Regions from separate parts of the Homo sapiens genome. Here regions 1, 2, 3 and 5 are each linked to region 4. Evidence: promoter capture Hi-C in 16 types of primary human blood cells and fetal thymus (Javierre and others, 2016). All regions are on one chromosome and are shown on one strand. The core of a region is centred on a gene start or on the middle of the fragment in contact, and the rest is flanking DNA. Distances in the headings are between cores, read along the strand shown.

Region 1 (2,700 bases), core at 153-2,652, 550 kb before region 4:
CCCAAACTCCTGGGCTCAAGCAAACCTCCTGCCTCCACCTCCCAAAGTGCTAAGATCACAGGCATGCGCCATCTCACCTGGCCGGCATTGGGAAAAACTCTTAAGTTCTTCAGGACCCTTCATTAAACTTTCAGTCCTTCAAGTCAGTATTCTTACCTCTGAATTAAGGCAACCAACACCTAAATAAGTAAACTCGTTTAACAAACCTCACAGATATGATGGGAACTGCCTCAGGTGGGAGTTACTGGCCAAAATGAGAATGGGGGCTGTGGACCTTCCCAGAAAATACGTGAAGCTGAGAGGAGCTTATAACAAACAGTGCTACCCAGAACAAATCCTCTAGAAGTATTTTGCAGGTGTTGCTACAATAAACACTATGATGACAGAAGACAGAAAGTAAGAATCACCAGAGGGGTGTGTGTGTGTGTGTGTGTGAGTGTGTGTGTGTGTGTAACCAGCTGATGCAATCCCCATTGGCACAAATTAAGTTTTATTTAGAACCCAAGCTTGCTGTGCAGAGGCCAATATAATGCATCCTTCTGGATAGCAGAGTATTTTCTCTAATAAAAATTTCTATCAAGACAGAAAAAAATACTGTGGTATTGCAACTTGCTCTCTATCAAATGACCTCTAACACCATGGAATCTACAATTTAGAGAAGGCCAATTCAGACATCTCTAAAGCTGTTGGCCTCACCCTGGTCAATTTCTTAAAGTTTGTGATCATGTTTTAAGTGGATAAAATGCTTTAAATTAAGTTCCCAACTAGAAAATAGAGCAATGAAAAGAAAAAACAAGCCTCTAATTTTTTTTCTTGAAATGATGCACTCATGAAAAATTCTCAACTATGCACAATTTTCTATCCCTAAATGGCATTTGAGAAGAAGGAGGGGTGTGTTTTAGGGCTGGACCCATGACTGGAAGTTTCTACTGGTACCCTGTACCAAAGATCTAAATGTGCCTCACAGTCCCAAAACAAAGACTCTTTCCTTCCAGAATGCCCCAACATTGCTGGACCAGAACAGTAAGCCCCTCCATCTGTTGATTTAATGATATTAAGAGCCCATGTAGTAGTCTCAACTTTAAAGGAATTTTTAATTTTCTTCTCTAATGGCAACATTTTTTTTCCTTGGGTACTAAGATTTCTAAAATAGCAGAGATCAAAGTTATGGGTACAGAAAGAAAAGGGAAAAAAAACTAGTTTACCATTAGGGCTAATTTTGAGAAAGCCAGTCCATTCTACCCTTTAATTCTTGGAACTAAGCACTATATCATCATGGTTGCTAATTCTGAGCATGTACCACATCCTGGAGAACATTATCCTAGCCCTGCAAGGTCCTGTCCCCCAGCTGATTCTATAACTGAGTCTTCCAAAGACCACCACATTGTTCAATCAGGCCAACTACTTCAGGATTATGGGTGATATAGTTAAGACTAATGAATTTCATGAGTGTGAGCTCATTGCCAGATTTCCTTTACTTTGAAATGAGTTGCCAGTCAGAAGCAATGCTATATGGAATATCACAATGGTATATAAGGAATTCTCTAAATCCACTGCTAAGTGCCTGATATGGTTTGGATTTGTGTCCCCACCCAAATCTCATGTTGAATTGTAATCCCCAATGTTGGAAGAGGGTCCTGGTGGGAGGTGATTGGATTATAGTGGTGGATTTCCCCCTTGCTCTTCTGGTGATAGTGAGTGAGTTCTCATGAGATCTGGTTGTTTAAATGAGTGTAGCACCTCCCCCTTCGCTCTCTCTTCCTCCTGCTTCAGCCACGTAAGACAAGCCTGCTTTCCTTCACCTTCCGTCATGATTGTAAGTTTCCTAAGGCCTCCTCAGCTATGCTACCTGTACAGCCTATGGAACCCTGAGCCAATTAAACCTCTTTTCTTTATATTAATAAATTACCCAGTCTCAGGTATTTCTTTTTAGCAGTGCAAGAATGGACTAATACAATGCCCAAATTCCAAAAACAGAGAGAGACCAACACTGAACAATTGATTGGGCCATGATTCCATGGGAAACAACCAACGACCTGGTGGCAAGTTGATTACACTGGACCATTTCCATCAAGGAAGGGATAGACCTTTGTTTTCACTGGAAGAAACAATTACCGTGAATATGGACTTCCCTTCCTCTCCACAATGCCTCTGCCATTTGTGAACTTTCATAATGCCTTATTCACCATTATGGTATTTCTCCACTTGGGTCTTTCCTTTTAGCTGCTCAGGCTTCTTCACTACATGGTAGTTTGTTTCCAAGAAGATTCATTCTAGGAAGAATAAATGGAAGCTTCCAGTCCTCCTTAAGGCTAGAGTCAGAAGTCCCATAACATCACTCCTGTCATATTCTGTTGATGAAAGCAATCACAGGGCCAGCCCGATATAGGGGAATGGGAAATAAACTTCAACTCTTGATGGGGAAATTGCCTGTGCCTATAGGAAGGGAAGGAATTGGTGGCAGCCATCTTTGGAGACTTTCTACCACAGTACCTGATTATTTTTCTTCATCCTTCAAAGAGCTTAGTGCCTTGAGAACACGATGTCCAATTCTATGATGTAGGTAGAGGTTGACATTATTTTGCAAAAAAAAAAAAAAAAAAAAGCAAACTAAGGATCAAAAAGGCAAAGTAGCCAAAGAGTAAACTAATCCAGCAAGTCCAATCCCAAAACATAGCCAGATAGGAACAGTAGGGCTGC
Region 2 (2,700 bases), core at 175-2,674, 750 kb after region 4:
GGAGTATTACCATGTTGGCCAGAACTCCTAACCTTGCGATTCGCCCACCTCGACCTCCCAAAGTGCTGGGAATACAGGCGTGAGCCACCGTGCCCAGCCCAGACTTAATTTTCCGTTGCCTACTCTACAGCTCTTCCTGAAGGTTTCCATTCTTCTCCTAGTCACTTTCATTGCTTCTTTCAGAGATATTTATTCTAAAGGCCCTTCCTAGTCTAGGGACCAGTCTTGTGAGCAAAGATACCTCTTGGCACTCCAGCCTCCAGCCATTTGATTCACTATCATCCATTTGAGTTTTCCAAATGCAGGCCCTAGACATTGTAGAACACAGAAGGGTTATCCCTGTCAAGCTCTCCTCAAGTTGCATATTCTTAAGCAAAATAAATTACTGTTGTTCTACACCACTAGGTTTTGAGAGTGATTTGTTATGCAGTAATACATAAAGAGAACAGAGGGAATAAATGGAAGATTCACCTGGGGCTCATTACATTGTAAGAGATAAGGTAAAAATCCAAGCTAATTCCTTTCCACATAGTGACTCCAGTGTCTCAGTACCTGTAAATGTCAGAATGTCTTGTTCATATATTTTTTTACAGCATTGAATATAATGATTAACATATAATAAGTATTAAAAATGCTTGTTGAGGTTGGGTGCAGTGACTCACGCCTGTAATCCCAACACTTTGGGAGGCCAAGGAGGGCAGATCACTTGAAGTCAGGATTCAAGACCAGCCTGGCCAACATGGTGAAACCCTGTCTCTACTAAAAATAGAAAAAATTAGCCGGTCATGGTTGCAGGCACCTGTAATCCCAGCTACCCAGGAGGCTGAGGCAGGAGAATTGCTTGAGCCCAGGAGGCGGAGGTTGCAGTGACCCAAGATCACGCCGCTACATTCCAGCCTGGGTGACAAAGAGAGACTCTGTCTCAAAAAAAAAAAAAGTAAAAATTTAAAGAAATTTTTTTAATGCTTGTTGAATGGAACTTTATATATTCACTGTGAAAATGTCATCTTTACGATATTGATCCTTCTCAAGCAAGGATTATCTCTTCTATATTCATATACTCCTTTATCACATTATAGTTTTATCGTTTTCTTTGCTTTTAAATCAATATCTTTGCTTTTAAATCAAGTCAATTAAATTTTTATTACTATTGTGAAAAACTGTTTATATTGCATTTTGCTGTATGAAAATAGAAGAGAAAAATATAATGAATTTTTATCATATACTGTAAAATCTTGCTTCAATTTAAATTTTAAATACTTCCAGTTTTAGGCTGACATCTGTGACAATGGAATCAAAAGATAACATTAAGAAAATGAAAACACAAGCCATCAATTGAGAGAAGTTATTTGCAAATCACGTATCTGATAAAGAACTTGTATCCAGAATATATAGAGCTCTTACACTTCAATAATAAGACAAACAATGCTCAATTTGAAAAATGGGCAAAAGACTTGAATAAACATTTCACCAAAAAAGACATGCAAATGGCTAATAAGCACATGAAAATATGTTCAACATCATTAGTCACTAGGGAAATGCAACTTTAAACCACAATGAGATATCACTTCACACACACTAAAATGGCTATAATTACAAAGACAGAAAAGAACAAATGTGGGTGAGGAAGTAGAGAAACTGGAACCCTCACGTACTGGTGGCAGAAATACAAAAATGGTAGAGCCACTTTGGAAAACAGGTAGGTTTTGTTTTGTTTTGTTTTGTTTTGAGATGGAGTCTCGCTGTGTCACCCAGGCTGGAGTGCAGTGGTGTGATCTCGGCTCACTGCAACCTCTGCCTCCCGGGGTCAAGTGATTCTCCTGCCTCAGCCTCCTGAGTAGCTGGGATTACAGGTGCCCGCCACCACACCTGGCTAATTTTTGTATTTTTAGTAAAGACAGGGTTTCACCATGCTGGCCAGGCTGGTCTTGAACTCCTGACCTTGTAATCTGCCTGCCTTGACCTCCCAAAGTGCTGGGATTATAGGCGTGAGCCACCGCTCCCGGCTTTTCTTTTCTTTCTTTCTTTTTTCTTTTTTTTTTTTTTTTGAGATGGAGTCTTGCTCTCTTGCCCAGGCTGGAGTGCGGTGGTACAATCTCAGCTCACTGTAACCTCCATCTCCCAGGTTCAAGTGATTCTCCTGCCTCAGCCTCCCAAGTAACTGGGATTACAGGTGTGCACCACCATGCCCAGCTAACTTTTTGTATTTAGTAGAGAGGGGTTTCACCGTGTTAGCCAGGATGGTCTCGATCTCCTGACCTTGTGATCTGCCCAGCTCAGCCTCCCAAAGTGCTGGGATTACAGGTATGAGCCACCACACTCAGCCAGATAGTGTTTTTAAAATATAAGTTTGTTCTAAAACCCAGCCATTCCATTTCTAGGAATGTACCCAACAAAAATAAAAACATATATCCACACACAAAAAAACATGCAATCACATGTTCACAGCAGAATTCTTCCTAATAGCTCAAAACTGGAAACAACGTAAATGTCCAGCTCCTGATGAATAGTTAAACAAAATGTGGACCCAGGCAGGTGGATCACCTGAGGTCAGGAGTTCGAGAGCAGCCTGGCCAACATGGCAAAACTCCGTCTATACTAAAAATACAAAAATTAGCTGGGCGTGGTGGCGCACGCCTATAATCCCAGCTACTCCAGAAGCTGAGGCAGGAGAATCAGTTGAACCCAGGAGGCAGAGGT
Region 3 (2,700 bases), core at 170-2,669, 600 kb after region 4:
CCCCGCCCCTTCTGCATGATGTAATCAGAGTGATTTGTTTTTAAGCGCGAGTTACTCCCCTACTTGAGACTTTTCAGTGATACCCACTGGAGTGGCTAAAGTAAAAAAGACCAGCAACACCACATGTTGGCAAGTATACAATGCAGGCAGGAGTGTTAAATGGTACAACCAACTTTGGAAAACTATTTGGCAGTTTATTACAAAGGTAAACATACATCTACTCTATGATCCAGCAATTCCAATTCTAAGTATTTGCCAAAAAGAGATATAAACATGTATTACAAAAAGACGTATGCAAGAACATTTATAGAAGCTTTATTTACAACAGCCACTCAAAACAACCCAAATGCCCGTCAACCAGAGAACAAATAAACAAGTCATGGTATCCATACAACAGAATACTACTCAGCAATAAAAGAAAATGAACTACAGATACACATAGCAGTATGGATGAATCTCAAAAACATTATGTTAAACTAAATAATAACACAAAAGAATACATACTGTGTTATTCTATAATATATGAAATTCTAGAATAGCCAAAACTAACCTATGGTGATAGAAAGCGGTAGCAAGGGATGGGTGGACAGGTATTGGCGGGAAAGGGGTAGAGGGAACATGCTGGGGTGATTGACAGAAATTGTCTATATCTTGGTTTGGGTGACTGTTATATGTATATGTTTGTTAACATTCATTGAACTGAACACCTGAAGTCTGTGCATTTTATTTTATGTTAATTATTCCTCTGAAAATATAGTCATTGTTTGAGATAAAACCAAAATCCTGAACTTGGCCTTTGGCAATACCTCTTCAGCCTCACCATGCACCATCCTCTCCCCTGTAATATATGTTCCACAGCCCCTCGCCTTCTTCCAGTGTCTCAACCATACCTTGATCCCTCCTGTTCCATCCTTGACACGAGCTATTCCCTGGAGCTGAAATGTTATCCCGCCCCTGAATCCATCTCTGGCCTCCAAGCAGCTTACCCTCCACCCATTCTTTACTCTCATTTCTAAGAGCACCCCAGGGAAAACAATCAGTTTATCTTTCAAATAAATGAATAATTGCATTTTCCAAGCCTTCCAAGATTTGCTCTCATTCCCCTCCAACACCATTTTAATACTCTTTCAGTGCTTGCTATCTATTTTTTATAGAACTTCTCACAATTTTTAACCTTTCATTTGCAACATTAGTTACTTGGCCTCCCCCAATAAACGGTACATTTTATGAAGGCAGGACCGTACCTAACTGCTTTATCTACGATAAAGAGTAGGTGATTAAGAAATATGTATTGACTGACTGAGTGCAGTTATGAGCATCTTTGTTCACTTACGACTTCCAGGATAAATTCCTAGAAGATATATGATTTGGTCAAAAGGGGGGCAAATTTTAAAGCCATTTATATAGACTGCAAAAAGCCTTCCAGAAAGATTGTGAGGATTTGTACCTTTACTAGTATCCTGCAACTTCTTTCGCCTAGGTTCTTACAACCTTTGTCTACATTGGGCATTATTTGTATGTACCCCTCTGTTTACCATTCATTCTTTCTTATCTTTATTCAAATAATATTTATTGAGCACTTATTATGTACTGCGTTCTGAGCCAGATGTTGAGGATGAAATGATGAATTCGATCAGTAGTTTTCACATTTTTTCCTTACCTTCTCTCTAAAAGAATTTTGAAAATCTAGGTATCCTTTAGCACTGTTTTAAGTCGACCCTTAATAATTTCCACCGTATTGTAAAAATAATTTCCCATTTATTATAAATTCTGACATTTAAAAATATTATCACAATTTAGTTATTAAAAATGCAAAATTAGCTGGGCATGGTGGCAGGCACCTGTAATCCCAGCTACTCAGGAGGCAAGGCTGGAGAATTGCTTAAACCTGGGATGTGGAGGTTGCAGTGAGCTGAGATTGTGCCATTGCATTCCAGCCTGGGCGACAAGAAAGAAACTCCATCCCAAAAGAAAAATTTTTTTTTTACTCTATTATACCTGTATACAACAAATTATTTTAGATAATTTCCTTTGACAATAAAGCTATATATCTTAAAAATTATTCTGTATTTAGTGATTACAAGTATTAGTTCACAATTGATCAAAAAACATAAATATATCACCAAATCTGATATACACTTATTAAACATAAAAAGTAAAAATCTGTCTGAATTGAATCTCTGAATGAGCTAGATGGGAGTGTTATTGGTTTTGTCCACTAGTTCACTGCAAGAATGAGATGGGTTTAGCATCAATTCTATTCCTATTTTTCCATTTTAAGTCTAAGAAATATCATGTGGCAGAGAGTGCTACCTGTCCACCAAAATCATTTTTCTTCTCTTTCAGTAATAAGATTGTTAGGTAAATATGCGGGTGGGCTATATTTCCCAGCATTCCTTGCAGTGTGGCTGTGCCCATTATCTATATATTGCCTCTCAGCTCAAATTCACCCTTGTCTGTTTCCTCTGTAAAGTTGATCTGGGCCCTTTAAACATTTTTCCTTTGGTGGCTGGCGCTGAAGCTTTGGGGTGCTAGAGTGATACTGAAAGAGAAAAGCATTTTACTTCCTAGTTCCCATGTGCAGCCTCCTCCAAGGATCACAGCTTCTCCAGTGCCCAGCTACTGCAGTGCACAGTAGTCAGCAGCACCCAGCAGCCGGCAGCTTCCCTTGGCCCCCACCCTTCCAGTCAGTTTTGTAGC
Region 4 (2,700 bases), core at 143-2,642:
TTACATCACTATTCTGTACTCACACTGTAAAGTTTTATATCAATTACTGAAAATCATCCCAGGATAATTAAGAATGAAATGAAATGGATTATCTATTTTCAAGTCTCTTCTATGATCATCTTTAGAAGATTAATTCTGAGGCCCTTTATTATGCTCTGTGGTTTCAGGAAATCCTTACACGGCGCCCTTGAGAGCTTTCATACTGCAAGTCATCCATTTTCCTCCCCTCAAACCTGGCATCGGAGTTTATTGAAACAAAGCAAAATAAAACAAATAGACAAAGCTCTACCTCCATCACTTCTGCAGTCTACATTAACCCCACGTCCAGAATATTCACACCTCAGGTCTTTTTCTCACAATTGAAACACTGGTTCAGAGCCTAACGGAAGGTCTTGGAGGTAAAAACACAACTTGGGGCAACTTTTCCATTCTGTTCTGCATGACCCCAATGGGACTTCTCAGAAACCCCTCTCATGAATTAAACTTTGTTCTGTCTAGAGCATTAGAATAAGCTTATGGGCACCTGCCAGGAGATTATAAAGTGGGCCATTTAAAAGATGACAGATATTGAGCACCCTTGACCCTGTAGAAAGAGTGTACCTACTTGCTTTCCCTAGGGCCCTTAATGGTTTATAAAAACAAGCACTCACTGATTCAAAAAATATCCTCATTCCACAGTCTTGCCATGCCTTCTTTCTGAGCACATGGCAGTCAGTCTCTAGCACATCCAGTGTAAGATAGAACAGAGATCCCAGGCCACCCTGTGGGAAGGGGTAGAGAAATGCAATACATTTCACAGGAAGTAGAAACCTAGAAAGACCACACAAAAAAACCCCTGCTTTATGGCAAAGCCAAAGAATATTTGTGAAGATTCCCCGTAAACCATTAAATCTGACACAAGTGTCAGAGTAGGATCACTGTTAACACTTGTTTTTACTAACAATAAGTGCGTTGTTGCTGACCCTGGCAGAGGAGAACAGAGAGTTCTCGGCAGGGCTTCCAATACAGAAAACACCTGCCAGGGTGTCTCTGGGTTCCCTCACCCTGGCCAGTCTCTCCAGCTTGCCCACATCCCTGCCCCAGAGTGGGAACTGTCCCTACTTGCCCGTCTGTATTCCTGGGCGTCGTTCACTCGGTTGAGTCTCAGCACATAGCCATCCTTTCTGTCTTTGTTAATATCCCGCAGGGCAAAGCCTGCAACTGCCAGCACATCTGAGTCATTGCAGCCCCGGGAGAGCAGAGCCGAGGGGTTGAGGGCCAGCTGGGGTGGAGACATTGCTCCGCAGCACAGGACTAGGATGCAGAGTGCCAGGGGAAGGAGCAGACCCATTCTGTGGAGAACAAGGCCCAGGATGGGTCAGTTTGTGGAGCTGCAGGGACTGGCTGGCTTGTAAGGCTCTTTAAGGCAGACTTGAGCGGTTTTGTTACAACTGGAAGGGCTAACCAAGTTCACCTTGAATTCTGAACTTGGATTTTCCTAAGTCAGTACTTTGGATAGCATTTCCCAATGATTCTAACCTTAGACCCTTGAGCAACCTCATATCCACCTGTACATACAAATGAATTTAAGTTTCCCAACTGTTTCCTGAGAAATCATAACATTTGTTCAAGGCTCTTATGATTAGATTCTGATTTGCAGGTCCCCTCCTGAATAGGAATATGGAGGACTGTCCCATTCTCCCCCTCTCCCCTAACACCTTTGCTGTGGAGGTCTCCTTGGCCACTCTAATAGTTATCTTATGTCCCAGTGGTGCTTGGTGAATTCAGACTTCCTGGCTGACACTCTGTGTGCAAAGCCCTTGTTAGATCAGGGAGGTAGTTGAACCCCACAGTCATCTGCCAGAAGCACAGTTGAGATTCCTTAAGCACTTTGGCCATCTGGGTGGAAAATGTTCTACTTATCATCATTTAAGTTATTTTTAAACAATGACTTTACTTAAGGGGAAAAAGTCAAAGAGATATAAAAAGTTCTCACATTGTATTTCAAGCCTATTCTTCCTTTTATGCATATGTATGGAAGCAAGCTCATTAAGAGACTAAAGCCCCATACTCTTGCTAAAAGAAAGATACTGAAGGGCAGGTGGGTGGCAACACATTGGTTGGGACTCTTGCCTTCTTTTTTTTTTTTTTTTTTTAGCTTCTATTTGTGATTCAGAAAGGTTCTACTTATTGGGACCATACAAAAGACAATTATCTTTTAAAAACTGTATTTCAACAAAAAACACATATCAGCAGTAGTTTGTCATGAGAGAAAAGAGACAAAATGGGAAAGAAGCCTCTAGAAGAGGTTATCATGAAGGGCATTCTATAAAGCCCTAGTCCATGAGGTGAGTAACCACCCCCTAACTCTCTCCCTACTCCTAGCCCTTCTCTTCCTTCCTGTCCCTGTCCAAGGATTCTGCATTCAAATAAGTTTAGGAACTGCTGAATCCTTCTGTGTGCTTGCTGGTACACAGTGGTGGCTATTGTGTAATGCTGAGAGGATTATCCTATCCTGATGAGGGCTCCACCCTCATGAATGGAATATGCCATTATCTTGAAAGTGAGTTCCTGATAAAAGGATGTGTTTGGTCCCCTTCTCTCTTCCTTTCACCTGTGTGATGCCTTCCACCATGTTATGATGTAGCATGAAGGCTCTCAGCAGGTATAGCCCCTCGATCTTAGACTTCCCAGCCCCCCAAACCATGAGCCAAAGTAATT
Region 5 (2,700 bases), core at 91-2,590, 650 kb after region 4:
CTATCATGAACCCATAACTTCTCCTTTCTGAGTTTCTACAGGAAAGCTACCACTGCTGGGTTCTCAGGAGGACAAAAGCACAAGACCATTTCTGCACTTTTCTGCTTCCTGCTGGTAGGTGGGAAATCAGGGAACAGAAAACTAATGCTCATTCACACTATGGTACAATGGAAAGAAAATTGGCCTTGGAGTCGAATAATCTTAGGTATGCTCTGCAAGGAATGGGCTGACTCCGCACCTTTCTGGGCTGGTTCCCTCAAACACTGCTGATAATGATTCTGAACTCAGGAGATGGTTATGATGACTGGATAAAGGGGTTAAGTACCTTGCACAATGCAGATGCTCCAGGCACACCAGCTCCTGGTAATTCTTGCTGTTTCTCACAGGAACCTCACAGGCCTCTGCCATCTGCAAGCTTCAGACGAGCCACACAAGAGAGGCAAGCTAGGAGCTCATCCCCAAGGGAGCTTTCAGACTCATGGTTTCAAAGAATTTTCACTTTATTACACATTTGTTCAGGCTTCAGTCTGATTTGACTAAAATGTAAAGACAGGGCCGGGCACAGTGGCTCATGCCTGTAATCCCAACACTTTGGGAGGCCAAGGTGGGCAGATCACTTGAGTCCAGGAGTTCAAGACCAGCCTGGCCAACATGGCAAAACCCTGTCTCTACTGAAAGTACAAAAATTAACCAGGTGTAGTGGTGCATGCCTGTAATCCCAGCTACTCAGGAGGCTGAGGGAGGAGAATTGCTTGAACCTGGGAGGCGAGGTTGCAGTGAGCTGAGATTGTGCCACTGCACTCTGTTGCCTGAGCAACAGAGCGAGACTCTGTCCCAAAAAAATAAAATAAAATAACATGTAAAGACAACCTCACATATTTGGGGTGGCCAGGGCAGCCTGGCTTCCTAAGCTAATCACAATGTACGGGTTCAAGTTTAACCTCATCTCCAAACAAAATGTCTATTTCTTGCCAAAAGAAGGCTCAGAAAGACTAAACTGTCTACCTCATCAGTGGTGTACTCATTTGGAAGGGATCCAAGAGTGTTGGAGTCTGGGCCAGCCAAAAGCACCCCAGCCACTTTTGGAGAGAGCAGGCGGAAGTGAGGGCTCTGATTTTCATGTTAAATCCTCATTTGGCCTCGGAAATGTTAAAAATAAACTTTCACCTGCATCTGATTTTCCTCTTTGTTATTGCAGCCATTGTCTGTTTGAACAAAGAGGTAGCAAGAGCCTCTTTGAGCAGTTCATAGAGTTCAAGCCAGAGCCCAAATTGGAGGGACACAGATGTTAATGAACAAGAGGACCAGCAAGAGTGCCACTGGGAATTAAAAACTCCCCTAGGATTTTCAGGTCCCTGATGGCAGGCAGGGGAACTACAGACCCCATTTTTCTGTGCCAGCTGCCCCCACCTGGCTTTCAGAAGGACTTGGGAGCTGCATATGGATTTCCCCCTAAGCAACTTGATACTAAATTGAAATCTTGATGATTCAGCCCCCCATTACCCCAACTCTTCTCTCCTGTCTGCTTGTATTTTGGAGGCTCCATCAGATGTGGGTGGGATGGGGTTTCCAATAGGATAAGAAAGCACAAACTAGGCACTACAGAATGTGTTGTTGAATTTAGAGGCAGTGTGTCATTGTAGAAAGATCCTGGGTTTAACAGCTAGATAAATCTGGGTTCAACAGCTAGATAAATCTGGGTTCGAATTCATTACTTTTCAGCTGTGTGACCTTGGGCAAGTCACTCGACTCTCTGGGCCTCAGTTTACTTCTCCATAAAATGGGCATAAAAATACTGTACTGATTAAGGTGATGATAGCTGCTATAATAAACACACACCCTCAAAAATGTCAATTGCCTCTAATGTTATGGAAGTTTATTTTGTGTTCACATAAAATTGAAAACAGGTGCTCCTAATCTGTGAGCCGCTCTCCTCTAAGAGGGAATTTAGGTGGCTGGGCTCCACCAAAGTCATCAGCATGGACATCAGTCCAAAGGTGAGGGGAAGATGATGGAGGACTGTGGCAAGTGGAAGAGATTTATGCCAGGCCTAGAAGTGTCACACACCACTTCCACTCACATGCTAGTGTCTAGAACAGTCCTACAGCTGTAATTAATTTTTTAATTACAGTGTTTTTGTAATTGCAAAAAACGCTGAGAAATGAGGTCCAGCTGTGTACCAAAGAAGACAAGGAAACCAAGATTGGTAAACATCTAGCTAGTCTTTGCCACATACACCAACTTTTCAGGGAGATACTAAGCTTAAATAAAAGAGTGACTATGAGGCCAGGCGCAGTGGCTCATGCCTGTAATCCCAGCACTTTGGGAGGCTGACATGAGAGGATCCCTTGAGCCCAGGAGTTCGAGACCAGCCTGGGAAACATGGTAAAACCCTGCCACTGCTAAAAAATAATAAAAAAAATTAGCCGGGCATGGTGGTACATGCCTGTAGTCCCAGCTACTCGGGAGGCTGAGGCAAGAGGATCACTTGAGTCTGGGAGGTCAAGACTGCAGTGAGCTGTGATCATGCCACTGCACTCCATTGTGGATGACAAAAGAAGACCCTGTCTCCAAAATAAGTAAATAAATAAATAAAAATGATGACTATGAAACAGTACAGTTTTCAACAAATGTTGGTTACTTGCTTCTTTCTTTTCCCCATGGCCAAACATTTGCCAGAAGCAATGAGGGAATGCTTTA

The links. Contacts are between HindIII fragments. The CHiCAGO score rates a contact against its expected background, and 5 or more counts as called.
Region 1: a contact is called between a fragment that was not itself captured here and the fragment with the promoter of FETUB in region 4, in 7 of 17 cell types (naive B cells, total CD4 T cells, total CD8 T cells and 4 more). The highest score is 6.1, in naive B cells.
Region 2: a fragment that was not itself captured here is called in contact with the fragment with the promoter of FETUB in region 4 in 1 of 17 cell types (neutrophils); the score reaches 5.1 in neutrophils.
Region 3: a fragment that was not itself captured here is called in contact with the fragment with the promoter of FETUB in region 4 in 1 of 17 cell types (naive B cells); the score reaches 5.7 in naive B cells.
Region 5: a fragment that was not itself captured here is called in contact with the fragment with the promoter of FETUB in region 4 in 6 of 17 cell types (activated CD4 T cells, total CD4 T cells, naive B cells and 3 more); the score reaches 9.2 in activated CD4 T cells.

The regions. Positions count from the first base shown.
Region 1 is chr3:187,191,563-187,194,262 of GRCh38, reverse strand. No RefSeq gene overlaps it. Among named protein-coding and RNA genes, the nearest start is that of RTP1, 4.6 kb to the left of the region's middle. The HindIII fragment of the contact is 1,787 bases long and covers 509-2,295 here.
Region 2 is chr3:185,886,132-185,888,831 of GRCh38, reverse strand. No RefSeq gene overlaps it. Among named protein-coding and RNA genes, the nearest start is that of TRA2B, 51 kb to the left of the region's middle. The HindIII fragment of the contact is 8,994 bases long and covers 1-2,700 here.
Region 3 is chr3:186,038,544-186,041,243 of GRCh38, reverse strand. No RefSeq gene overlaps it. Among named protein-coding and RNA genes, the nearest start is that of ETV5-AS1, 39 kb to the left of the region's middle. The HindIII fragment of the contact is 2,208 bases long and covers 316-2,523 here.
Region 4 is chr3:186,639,091-186,641,790 of GRCh38, reverse strand. FETUB (fetuin B) reads right to left here and starts at 1,392. Exons shown (of 7, transcript NM_014375.3): 1 at 1,106-1,392; 2 at 651-761. The coding sequence starts at 1,330. It overlaps HRG-AS1 (HRG and FETUB antisense RNA 1), which reads left to right. Exons shown (of 3, transcript NR_187317.1): 3 at 168-282. The HindIII fragment of the contact is 5,467 bases long and covers 515-2,700 here.
Region 5 is chr3:185,987,327-185,990,026 of GRCh38, reverse strand. No RefSeq gene overlaps it. Among named protein-coding and RNA genes, the nearest start is that of TRA2B, 51 kb to the right of the region's middle. The HindIII fragment of the contact is 1,846 bases long and covers 418-2,263 here.